4 separate regions of the Homo sapiens genome follow, and regions 1, 3 and 4 are each linked to region 2. The links are contacts of gene promoters, found by promoter capture Hi-C in blood cells and fetal thymus (Javierre and others, 2016). All regions are on one chromosome and are shown on one strand. Each heading gives the region's core, a stretch centred on a gene start or on the middle of the fragment in contact. The rest is flanking DNA. Distances are from core to core; before and after follow the strand shown. Region 1 overlaps RBM42 (RNA binding motif protein 42). Region 2 holds the start of NPHS1 (NPHS1 adhesion molecule, nephrin). Region 3 holds the start of HAUS5 (HAUS augmin like complex subunit 5). Region 4 holds the start of CLIP3 (CAP-Gly domain containing linker protein 3).

What was found. Contacts are between HindIII fragments. The CHiCAGO score rates a contact against its expected background, and 5 or more counts as called.
Region 1: a fragment that was not itself captured here is called in contact with the fragment with the promoter of NPHS1 in region 2 in 1 of 17 cell types (M0 macrophages); the score reaches 5.8 in M0 macrophages.
Region 3: the fragment with the promoter of HAUS5 here is called in contact with the fragment with the promoter of NPHS1 in region 2 in 3 of 17 cell types (M1 macrophages, M2 macrophages and M0 macrophages); the score reaches 7.1 in M1 macrophages.
Region 4: a contact is called between the fragment with the promoter of CLIP3 here and the fragment with the promoter of NPHS1 in region 2, in 10 of 17 cell types (monocytes, fetal thymus, activated CD4 T cells and 7 more). The highest score is 10.6, in monocytes.

What each region holds. Positions count from the first base shown.
Region 1 is chr19:35,637,059-35,639,758 of GRCh38, forward strand. RBM42 (RNA binding motif protein 42) reads left to right here. Exons shown (of 10, transcript NM_024321.5): 9 at 100-294; 10 at 384-627. The coding sequence ends at 496. Among named protein-coding and RNA genes, the nearest start is that of ETV2, 3.3 kb to the right of the region's middle. The HindIII fragment of the contact is 186 bases long and covers 1,281-1,466 here.
Region 2 is chr19:35,851,254-35,853,953 of GRCh38, forward strand. It overlaps NPHS1 (NPHS1 adhesion molecule, nephrin), which reads right to left and starts at 1,251. Exons shown (of 29, transcript NM_004646.4): 1 at 527-1,251; 2 at 204-419; 3 at 9-131. The coding sequence starts at 584. It also overlaps a transcript of KIRREL2 not described here. RefSeq lists enhancers at 1-537, 538-1,179. The HindIII fragment of the contact is 3,857 bases long and covers 1-2,700 here.
Region 3 is chr19:35,611,458-35,614,157 of GRCh38, forward strand. HAUS5 (HAUS augmin like complex subunit 5) reads left to right here and starts at 1,278. Exons shown (of 19, transcript NM_015302.2): 1 at 1,278-1,435; 2 at 2,273-2,335; 3 at 2,411-2,443; 4 at 2,578-2,602. The coding sequence starts at 1,338. It overlaps HAUS5-DT (HAUS5 divergent transcript), which reads right to left and starts at 1,207. Exons shown (of 2, transcript NR_186318.1): 1 at 1,161-1,207. RefSeq lists enhancers at 1,012-1,567, 1,156-1,415. The HindIII fragment of the contact is 7,658 bases long and covers 1-2,700 here.
Region 4 is chr19:36,031,472-36,034,171 of GRCh38, forward strand. CLIP3 (CAP-Gly domain containing linker protein 3) reads right to left here and starts at 1,402. Exons shown (of 14, transcript NM_015526.3): 1 at 1,253-1,402; 2 at 721-944. The coding sequence starts at 886. All of the region lies in intron 3 of LOC101927572 (a long non-coding RNA gene), which reads left to right. The HindIII fragment of the contact is 8,202 bases long and covers 1-2,700 here.

The DNA.
Region 1 (2,700 bases), core at 124-2,623, 210 kb before region 2:
CAGAGACTAGATACCTCCGAAAAGGTGGGATCGTTCAGACAAGGTAGACACTGGGCAAGGCCTCTGCATCCTCTGATGTCATCTCTTCCCCATCCCCAGATGACTTCCGGATCTTCTGTGGGGATCTGGGCAATGAGGTGAACGATGACATCTTGGCACGCGCCTTCAGCCGCTTCCCATCCTTCCTTAAGGCCAAGGTGATCCGTGACAAGCGCACAGGCAAGACCAAGGGCTACGGCTTCGTCAGCTTCAAGGACCCCAGCGACTACGTGCGCGCCATGCGTGAGATGAATGGTGGGTGCGGCCTCCCCTGGGAACTGCAGGCGCGGCAGGCGCTGGCCTAAGCCTGACCCGAGCCTGCCTTGAACCCTCTGTCTCCACAGGGAAGTATGTGGGCTCGCGCCCCATCAAGCTTCGCAAGAGCATGTGGAAGGACCGGAATCTGGACGTGGTCCGCAAGAAGCAGAAGGAAAAGAAGAAGCTGGGCCTGAGATAGGGTCTGTGGCCAGGCACCCGCTCCCACCTGGCCGGGCGCTGGCTCCTCCCTCAGTTCTCTTTGGAAAACCCCCAGCTGTCCACCCATCCCCTGCCCCAAAACCAGTTTCAATAAATTTACGTTCATTTCCACCCCTGGCTGGGCATGGAAGCACGCTGTGGGGAGCAGGGCTTGGCTTCCCCACAGCTGGAAATGGCGGGGAGCCTTGAGAGTTTACCCAGGCAAACACCCAGGCGGGGGCTTCTGAGCCCTTCCTGCGCACCCATTCCCTCTTCAAACCTCTTCCACACATGCTGAGTGCTGCTTATTCCAGAGGAGAAAGGGGGGCCAATGGCAAGGGTGAAGCCAAGCTGAGGCCCATCCCCGTGTCCTGGCTACTTCCTGTGTTCTCAGCACCAAGGTAGGAGATCTAGGCCCTTCCCTTCTGGAGCTCACAGGCTTCTAGGCCCTCTTCCATCCAGCAGACTCTCACCAAGGGTCTGAACAGTGCTTGAGGACACAATGGTGACTAAAAGTCCTGGGCCCTGCACCGTTAGAGCTCAAGGTCCAGTGCAGAAAATAGGCCCGGTGCCCTGACGATAAGAGCCCAGAGTGGTCAGGGCAGGATGGGGGCGCTGACCTGTGGGTGAGGGGGCCCTTCCTGAAGGAACCGTCCACCCCCAAGTCTCCTCTGGGGCTTTCCAGCTTCTCCAGTCTGCCATGCCCAGCCAGCTCACCATGCTCTAAGTCTCGGTGGGCACCTCTATCTCTGTCTCTGTGGGTACCCCTCCATTTCTTGTCTCTAAGCTTCTATATCCCTGTTGGTCTCTGTTCTCTCCCTTGGAGCTGGGAAATGAAAAAGGAGGAGAGACCCACAGATAGAGAGAACAGAGACTTGGGGTCTGTTCCCCTCTCTTCCCAGCTCCAAGCTGGCCTCTGCCTGTCTGAAGAGGTGTCTGTGCAGGGCCTTGAATGCCAGGCTGAGGGCTTAAGCTTTACGCAGAAGGCAGCAGCAAGCCCCAAAAAGCTGAGAAAATTCAAGCAGCAGCAAGGTCCTGGGCAGCACAGATGTGCGCTGTAGAAAGGGCCCTGTGACCGGCTGGGTGCGGTGGCGCACGCCTGTAATCCCAGCACTTTGGGAGGCAGGCAGATCACTTGAGGTCACGAGTTCGAGACCAGCCTGGCCAACATAGTGAAACCCTGTGCCTACTGAAAAATACAAAAATTAGTTGGGCGTGGTGGCGGGCACATGTAGTCCCAGCTACTTGGGAGGGCTGAGGCAGGAGAATCGCTTGAACCTGGTAAAAGGAGGTTGCAGTGAGCTGAGATCGCGCCACTGCACTCCAGCCTTAGTGACAGAGTGAGATTCTGTCTCAAAAAAAAAAAAAAAAAAACGCCCTGCGACCACCACTGTGGCTGGAAGTCTAGAAGGCTGGGGCAGGGACTGGGCCAGAGGAGGGAGATGGCAGGTTTGAGTATGGGGAGGAGTGGAGGGTCTCCCAGGGACACAGCCATCGGAACCCTCCATTAGGAGGGAGCAGGTTGGGCAGGACTTTGTGGGGCATAAGTCGGGGGATGGACAATACCAAGGCCTCTCAGGGACCGAGGTCCCCCAGGAGAGGTGTCGAATTTCTCCTGTTCCTGTCTTCCCCGCCTTACTGCCCCCTCTCTGACGTCACATTTTCCAGTCTGGTCAGAGGGTGAGAGCCTCCCTGGCAGGAAGTGCCCTTTAGCCCCCTGCCACCTGGGCCAGACCACCCAGCCCCAGGATCCTCAAAGCCCCTTCCCCCCATCACTAGTCTTTTCTACCCCTGACCCCCCTTGTACTGACAGCAAGCATAGGGTCACGGGAGGAGATGGGAAGAGAGGATGGCTCCAGAAAGGACGCTTCCAAATGCATGTGATTCTCACTTCCAAGTGGGAGCAGAACAGCAGGTACACGTGGACATGCAGAGTGGGGTAACAGGCACTGCAGACTCCAAAAGGTGGGAGCGTGGGGGAAGCTGAACAGTTACCAGTTGGGTACGTTGCTCACCATTCGGGTGCACTAAAGGCCCAGGCCAGTATACTGGATATACTGACATATATCCAGTAAGGAATCTGCACTTGTACCCCCTAAATGTTTATCTTTTTTTTTAATGCACACAAGTCTTCCTGAGAACAAGAAGAGACACACACACATAGAATGTGGCAAGCAGAGGTAGAGATGGCGCTGTGAGCAGGAG
Region 2 (2,700 bases), core at 1-2,500:
ACCCATACCCAGGATGGAGAGGATCACTCTGGGAGACACGAGCTCGGGCCCCATCTCAGAGCGGCCGACCTGGCACTCATACTCCGCGTCATCGCTGAGGTCACAGGCCTCGATGTGCAGGTGGAATTCACCTGCAGGGGGAGCCGGAAGTCAGGGCCGCAGCTTCCGCTGGTGGCTGAGGGTCTCAGGCTCTGATCCCTTACCTCTAGCAGGGTCCCCTTCCAGGCGGTACCTCGGGAAGCCTGGGATCCTGGGGTCGGGGCCCAGGAGCAGCCCATCTTTGGCCCATTGCACCGCACTGCCAGGGGTGCTGACCCCACAACGCAGCTCCACTGAGGCCCCCTCCACCACCGTCAGGTTTTCAGGCAGGGCCCAGAAGCCCCGGGGAACGGAGGCAGGAATCGCCAACTGCGCCAGGCCTGAGGACACAGCGCGGTGCAAGGAAAGGGCAGAGGGTTTGTCTAGGGAAGGTAAGTGGGAAATGGGGGCCACTTGGCGCTGGGTACAAGGCTGGGATCCCACTCACCTTCAGTCAGCAGCCCCAGGAGCAGGAGAGAAGCCCTGAGCGTCGTCCCCAGGGCCATCACAGGTCCCCCTACTGTGACCCCCACAGCGCCCGCTGCCAGCCACCTGCGTCTGTCTGGCTTTCTCTGGGTCCCTCTCTGTGTGTCTCTGCCACCTGCTTTTCTTTTTTATCTCTTTCCGTTACTCTCCTCCCTTTCTCGTTTTCCTCTTCCCCTCTTCCCTGTGAGTATCTCTCTCTGTCTTGCTCTCAGTCTCAATCTCTGAGTCTCTTTCTCTGTCTCTTTAAAAAAACTTTTTTTTCTTTTTTCTTTTTTTTTTCTTTTTTTTTTTTTTAGAGACGGGGTCTCACTATGTTGGCCAGGTTGATCTCAGACTCTTTCCTTCAAGCCATCCTCCCACCTTGGCCTCCCCAAGTGTTGGGATTACAGGCGTGAGCCACTGCGCCCAGTCTCTTTATCTTTCCATCTTTCTCTCCTTGTCTAAGCCGTTCTCTCTCCTTTTGTCTCTGTCTCTTCCTCTCTCTCTGTCTCTCTCTCTCTCTCTCTCTCAATCTCTATCTTCTCTCCTGCCACCCCTCACTCCTGCTCCTTGTCTCACTACTCACAGCCTTTCAAGAAGGACCTGCAGCCCAGAGTCCAGCAGGCCAGGAGCCTAGGAGAGCGATGAGGCTGATGCAGGCACTGGCAGAGTCAGCCCTGCTCTCTGACCCAGCTTGAGCTCATTCTCACAGTGCAACCTCCCCCAGGTACCTTCCAGAGCCCCCAGCTCTGGCCTCTGCCCAGCAGGCTCCTCCCAGCTGGCCCAGCTGGAGCATAAAATCCCCTGTCAGCACATGCCAGGCGCGTTCCTCGGTGCCTCCCCAGCCTCCGTGACCCCAGGGCCTGGCTTAGGCTGGGAAGATGGGAGAAGTCAGATCAAGGTGGTCTCCCAGCTCAGCAGGGGAGCAGCCAGCTGGGCCCCCAGCTCTTCCTTGCCCTGATACATGACCTTGGCAAGTCTCTTTCTTTCTTTCTTTCTTTTCTTGAGATAGTCTTGCTCTGTTGCTCAGGCTGGAGTGCAGTGGCATCTCGGCTCACTGCAACTTCCACCTCCCATGGCTTGAACCTCCCAGGTTCAAGTAATTCTCCCACCTCTGTCTCCCAAGTAGCTGGTGCTACAGGTATATAGCACCATGCCTGGCTAATTTTTGTATTTTTACTAGAGACGGGGTTTCATCATGTTGGCCACGCTGGTCTCGAACTCCTGACCTCAGGTGATCCATCTGCCTCAGCCTCCCAAAATGCTGGGATTACAGACATGAGCCACCGCACCTGGCCTCCCTTCCTTTTTTAGTAGACATCAGTGCCTAAATGATGTCAGGGATCTCTGCTGGGGAGGATGCAAGAGTGAGTGTGACAGGCTGGGAGAGTGTGGGAGAGAGGGAAGATATGCATGTGTGTACGTGGGTGTGAGAGTGGGGAAGGTTAGAGTGAACTGCGATCTGTAATAAGCATGTGGAGAGCGTGTGTGTGACAGTGTCTTACGTGGGAGTGCACAGGGTGTGGGCGGGAGTAAAAGGCAGAGTCCAATTCCACCGGCCCCCAGTGTGGGTGCAGTGTGAGCCCAAAGTGGGCGCCCTTTGGCAAGGACTGCATGAGCTTTCTTCTCCCTCTTTTTCTTGCCCTCTCTCCCATCTCTTCTTTCCTTCTCCATGTCTCTCTCTCTCCCTCCCTCTATCTATCTTGATTTATCTTTCTTTCTTTTGAGATGGAATCTTGCTCTGTTGCCCAGGCTGGAGGGCAGTGGCATGATCTTGGTTCATTGCAGCCTCAACTTCCTGGGCTCAGGTGATCCTCCTGCCTCAGCCTCCTGAATAGCTGGGACTACAGGTGCACACCACCACTCCAGCTAATTTTTTAAAATTTGTTTGTAGAGACAGGGTCTTTCTCTATTGCCCAGGCTGGAGTGCAGTGGTGTGATCATGGCTCATTGAAGCCTCAAACCTCCTAGGCTCAAGTGTTCTTTCTGCCTCAGCCTCCTGAGTAGCTGGGACTACAGGCCCGCATCACCACTCTGGCTATTTTTTTTTTTTTTTTTTTTTTTTTGAGAGGGAGTCTTGCTCTGTCACCCAGGCTGGAGTGCAATGGTGCGATGTTGGCTCACTGTAACCTCCGCCTCCCAGGTCCAAGCGATTCT
Region 3 (2,700 bases), core at 28-2,527, 240 kb before region 2:
AGAATCTAATGCTTAGGCGGGGCATGGTGGCTCACACCTGTAATGCTAGCACTTTGGGAGGCTGAGATGGGCTGATCACTTAAGGTCAGGAGTTCAAGACCAGCCTGGCCAACATGGTGAAACCCCGTCTCTACTAAAAATACAAAAATTAGCTGGGCATGGTAGCGGGCGCCTGTAATCCCAGCTACTCAGGAGGCTGAGGCAGTAGAATCGCTTGAACCCCGGAGGCAAAGATTGCGCTGAGCCGAGATCGGGCCACTGCACTCCAGCCTGGGTGAAAGAGGGAGACTTCACCTCAAAAAAAAAAACAGGGAAGAAAAAAAAAAAGAGAGAGAGAGACAGAGAATATAATGCCTCACGACCTGAAGTGGAACAGTTTCATCCCGAAACCATCCACTGCTCCCACCCTCCATCCCCCAGACTGTGGAAAAATTGTCTTCCATGAAACCAGTCCCTGATGCTCAAAAGGTTGGGGACTGCTGGTCTAGCGCAGACCTCTCACACCTGCTGTGTCCCAAATTGACCCACCCCTGCTGCTTATTTTTACCACCCCTACCTGGTGGTGCGTCTGTCTCCCCACTCAACTGTGAGCTCCGTACAATAGGGACCAGGGCTGTTGTGGTCACCATGGTGTCCCCAGCATCACCCAGCACAGGGTCAGCTCCCTGAGTTTATGGAATGGTAAGCACGAATGAATGGGAAAACGCATGCCAGGGAAATGTTAGGGTCATGCTCTCTGCCCCTACCCTCCACTCAGACATGAGACACCTGTTTCTGAAATCAAAGAGCAGTAAGTCCAGGATCTCATTGCCTGGTTCCAGTCCTCCTAGGACGCAAGTCCCATTTTGTCAAGAAAATAAAGGGGGTGAGCGTGGTGGCTCACGCCTGTAATCCCAACATTTTGGGAGGCCGAGGCGGGAGGATCGCTTGAGCCCAGGAGTTCAAGAGCCCAGAAGCTGAGACTAGCCTGGGCAACAAGTGAGATCCCATCTCTATTAAAATAAAAGTGTTTAGTTAAAAGAAGAAAAAGAAAATAAATGGAAGCATCAAGGACTGTTTTGCCTCTTTCGGGTTAGCTGGTAGTGAGCGGGAGAACGAGGGAAGGCGGGCGGGGCTGCAGTCTCTCCACGCCCTTTTCATTTCCACTCAAGGAGACCTACCTGGGAAGAGTGAGCGCTGCAAGACCCAGCCTGACCGCGCTAAGATTACTATGCAGCGCCCGAGCCCGCTGTCTGCCCGGCAACCGATGACGTCACTGTTGGCGCGCCCGTGACGTCAGAGGCGGGCGCCACACTTGAAGAGGCTGAGGGAGGCGGTGTCGCCGCCGCGGCGCTGTCATGGAGCTAGCGCAGGAAGCGCGGGAACTGGGTTGCTGGGCGGTCGAAGAGATGGGGGTGCCCGTGGCGGCCCGGGCCCCGGAATCGACGCTGCGCAGGTGAGGACCGCTCCTGGAGTGAGGACACCCCACCCTGGAGATTGAGTCTCCGGGAGTGAGAACTCCACCCCTCATTGAGGACTCGACTCCCCCCAATTCCCCATCGAGAGTGACCCGACTTACTGAGGGCTCCCTACCCTGGGAGGCTCCCCAGAGTGAGGTCCCTAGCACTGGTGAGGATCCTCCACGAGTTAGCTAAGACCTCGCTCCTTATGGAAATAGGATCTCCAGAGTGAGGCTGTCCCCGCAGCACCTCCCCTCCCTCCCTTAACCTAACCAAGAAGGACACTCAGGAGTTAGCCGTGGCCACCCCATCGGGGATTGAAGCTGTAGGAGTGATGCCCCACGTCTGGTCATGAGATGGCACTTCCTGGCAGTACATCCCCCACCTCCACCTCTGGATGTGACTGGGATAACCCACTCCCAGGAGAAAGGGAGCACCCGCCTCTCCCGCGCTCCCCCACCACCCGCCTTCCCAGGGAATGAGAATAACACCACACTTAGTGCAAACATCCAGTCCCTACAAAAAAAATGTTTTACCAATTAGCCGGGTGTAGTGGTGCCTGCCTGTAGTCCTAGCTACTCTGGAGGCTGAGGTGGGAGGATCGCATGAGCCCAGGAGGTTGAGGCTGCAAGGAGCTATGATCGTACCACTGCGACAGAGCGAGACTGTCTCTTAAAAAAAAAAAAAAAAAAAAGGCAAAAAAAAGTTTGGGCCTTCCCTCCTCAAGAAGTGAGAACTCCCTAGTAAAAACTCCCTACCACCATCACCCTAGGAATGAGGATCCCACACCCTGTGTGCTGCCCCAGGCATATGCTTACACACTGTCCCCACAGGCTGTGTCTGGGCCAGGGGGCTGACATCTGGGCCTACATCTTGCAGCATGTGCACAGTCAGAGGTAAGCTGGGCTAGAGCAGGGGAGGGGGCACAGGTGAGGCCCATAGTAACTCCTCTTTCTGCCTCTGCACTGTAGGACTGTCAAGAAGATCCGGGGAAACCTACTCTGGTAACTGCTTCTTAAAGCTATCCCCTCCTGTCTTCCCCACTCCCATTTAGCCCTGTCCCCACCACAGCATCACACCTATTGCCCTCCCCCCTAGAAGCCCCACTCATCCGCTGACTCTGGCCTCGTTTTCCTAGGTATGGCCACCAGGACAGTCCACAGGTGAGAAGCATATGCTACAAGATTCTCTTTCATCCGAAAAATGACTTGTAGATCTTCTGCTCTAAGCCCAACCAGGTGCTGGGTGATGCTGGGGACAA
Region 4 (2,700 bases), core at 152-2,651, 180 kb after region 2:
TTGTCACAGAGTAGCAGCACTCGATAAATATCGCTCGGTCAATGATTAGACACTTTCAGTTTCTCCAAGAGGCCGCCCTCTCAGCTCCATACCCTCCTACCTCAGATCCTTTACCCAGCGGTTACCTCTCCTGGGAGCCCTTTCCCCTGACCCTTCTCTTAGTTAACCCCAACTCACCCTCCAGTCTTCTCAACTGTAACCTCCTCAGGGAAACAATGTCTTAAAAAACTCTTGCAGCAGCTTGTTTATGGTAAATACAATTTTCATAATGTCTTGTAATTACATATTTATATTACATTATATTTTTCTTTCTTGCATATAAACCTAAATGTGAAAAATTACATTATGGTTTAATACCTATTTGTGTGGCTGTTACTGAGGCCTGTGAGTTGTCTCAGGGCAAAGACTGGGTCTCTCTTGCCCCCTGCTGTGGCCCCAGCCCCTAGCATAAAGCCAGGTCCACAGCCGCTTTCAAAAAATGATTGTTGAATGACTAAATGATGGAATGATGTGTCATGAGTCAAAGACTAGGAGTATTACAATTCCATTCTCCAATGGGTGAATGAATGAATTAACGAGGGGTGCTCTGCAGCCAAGATTCCTCTGGACCACCTTCAAATTCCCCAGAATTCTCCCACCATCACCACCAGCAGAGCACAGCCCACCCTCCCCGGCCACCCAACGCTCCAGGCCAGATTCCAGGGTGGGGACAGTGGTTACCGTAGTCCTTAGGGAGGGGGGCAGGTGCCGAGGGGTGCACAACAGGCTTCTGCCGGCGCTCCTGGGTGGGGCTGGGGGCCTCGGGGACGGGTTCATCCTCCTCCTCCTCTTCTTCCTCCTCTCCTCGGGGTGGCGGGGCCATCGGGGCAGGATCTGTCTTAGTCATGGTCCTCGGTGGCCCTCGGGGGGCGGGTGCAGAGTTGGGGGCAGCCTTCAGGCAAATCCTGGAGGCAGAGGTCAGCTGGAGAGGGTGCCCGGCAGGCTCCAGGGTCCAAGCCCCTAGGAGCTTCCAGGGCCCCGGGTGGCCTCCGCGCAACTGGATCTTGGGCAACCATAGGGACCCCCGTTACCCATAGAGGGCCCCGGTGTGTGCGCCCAGCGCCTGCCACCTCCCCCAGGCCCAGCCCCCCATTCTTCTCCTCCCGCGTCAGGCCCCTCAGTCGCGGCTGCCCCCTCCCCGGGTTTGTTTATCTCGGGATTCAGGATGCTTCGCCCCTCCCCTTCTCCGCGGGCCGCCCCCTCCCCATCTTACCTCGGGCAGACAGCGCTGGGGACCAAAGTGGAGACTGGGGAGACTGTGGGAGCAATGGGGTGTCGGTGTCAGGGGACGTGATGGGGGAGGCAAGGGAGACAGAGAGAAGGGGACGAGGCCCAGACGCCGACAGGGGGTGGGGGCGGAGAGGGAGGGGCGCGACTGCGCATGCGCCTGCTGCCCCCCTACCGGCGGCGGGGGAGGAGGGACCAGGAGGAGGGACCGGGAGGCGCTCGCATTGATGGAGGGGCCAGAGGCGGCGACTGAAAGGGGAGAGCCTCCGGGCACTGGGAGAGGAAGAGATGGCTACGGAAAGGAGCGAGATGAGCAGATACAACGGCAAAAGAGAGGGCTGAGAGAGCGGACACAGATCTTCTCCATCCCCTTCCCCCACGCCTGCAAACCAGGCCGGTGAGGGCAGTGGTCTTGGGGCGTGGTGACGATGGGGACCCTCTAGGGGACCCTCTCTCTAGGACCCTAGACCGGACCCCTTCTCCAAGCTCACCATTCATAATGGGTGCCTCAGAGGGGTGATTTCCTAGAGACTCCTATCATGATCATCTCATCCTTACCATCATAATGCGAGGCTCACACACTGGGGCCCAGAGGTTAAGCAGCTTGCCCAAAAGTACATGAGTAGGTGATGGAGCGAACATTTGAAACCAGACAGTCTGTAAAGTCTGATTTTTATTTTTATTATTTCCTAGACAGGGTCTCACTCTGTCACCCAGGCTACTGTGCAGTGTTGTGATCTTGGCTCACTGCAGCGTCAAACTTCTGGGCTCAAGCCATCCTCCCACCTCAACCTCCCGAGTAGCCGAGACCACACGTGCATGCCACCATGTCTGGAGAATTTTTTTTGAGACAGGGTTTTGCCATGTTGCCCAGGCTGGTCTTGAACTCCTGACCTCAAGGGATCCTCCTGCCCCTGCCACCCAAAGCGCTGAGATTACAGGCACGAGTCACCATGCCCAGCTTTGATTCTTAATCACCATGCTACATGCCTGTAGCAGTGTCTGGGAAACAGATCTGCCGATTGACCCCTCCAACTCTCTCAGAACCTGTATCTTCCCCACGGAGGCCTCCTGAAGCCAGCCCAGGGTCCTGGCTCCATTGTCATGGCTTGGCTTCCCACCTGGAGCTGTAGCCTGCTCTGCCTCAAATCATCCCAGCCTGGATGGGGCTGGGTGACAGCCTTGAACACCTCATCCTTCTAATGCACAGGTCCAGTAGCTCCATCTCCAAAAGATTTCCAGGATCTCACTCTCCCCACCGCTACCCTGGGCCCTCATCTTGGTCCATCCTTCTTCTTCTGCCACCAGCACTACGGCAGCAGCCTCTTACCTGCTGTCCCCGTCCTCCTCCAACATGCAGCCACAGGGACCCATGAACACCTGTCACTTTGGAGCCCTCTTTCCCTCAGAGGGGTCTGCCTGCTGCACCTCACT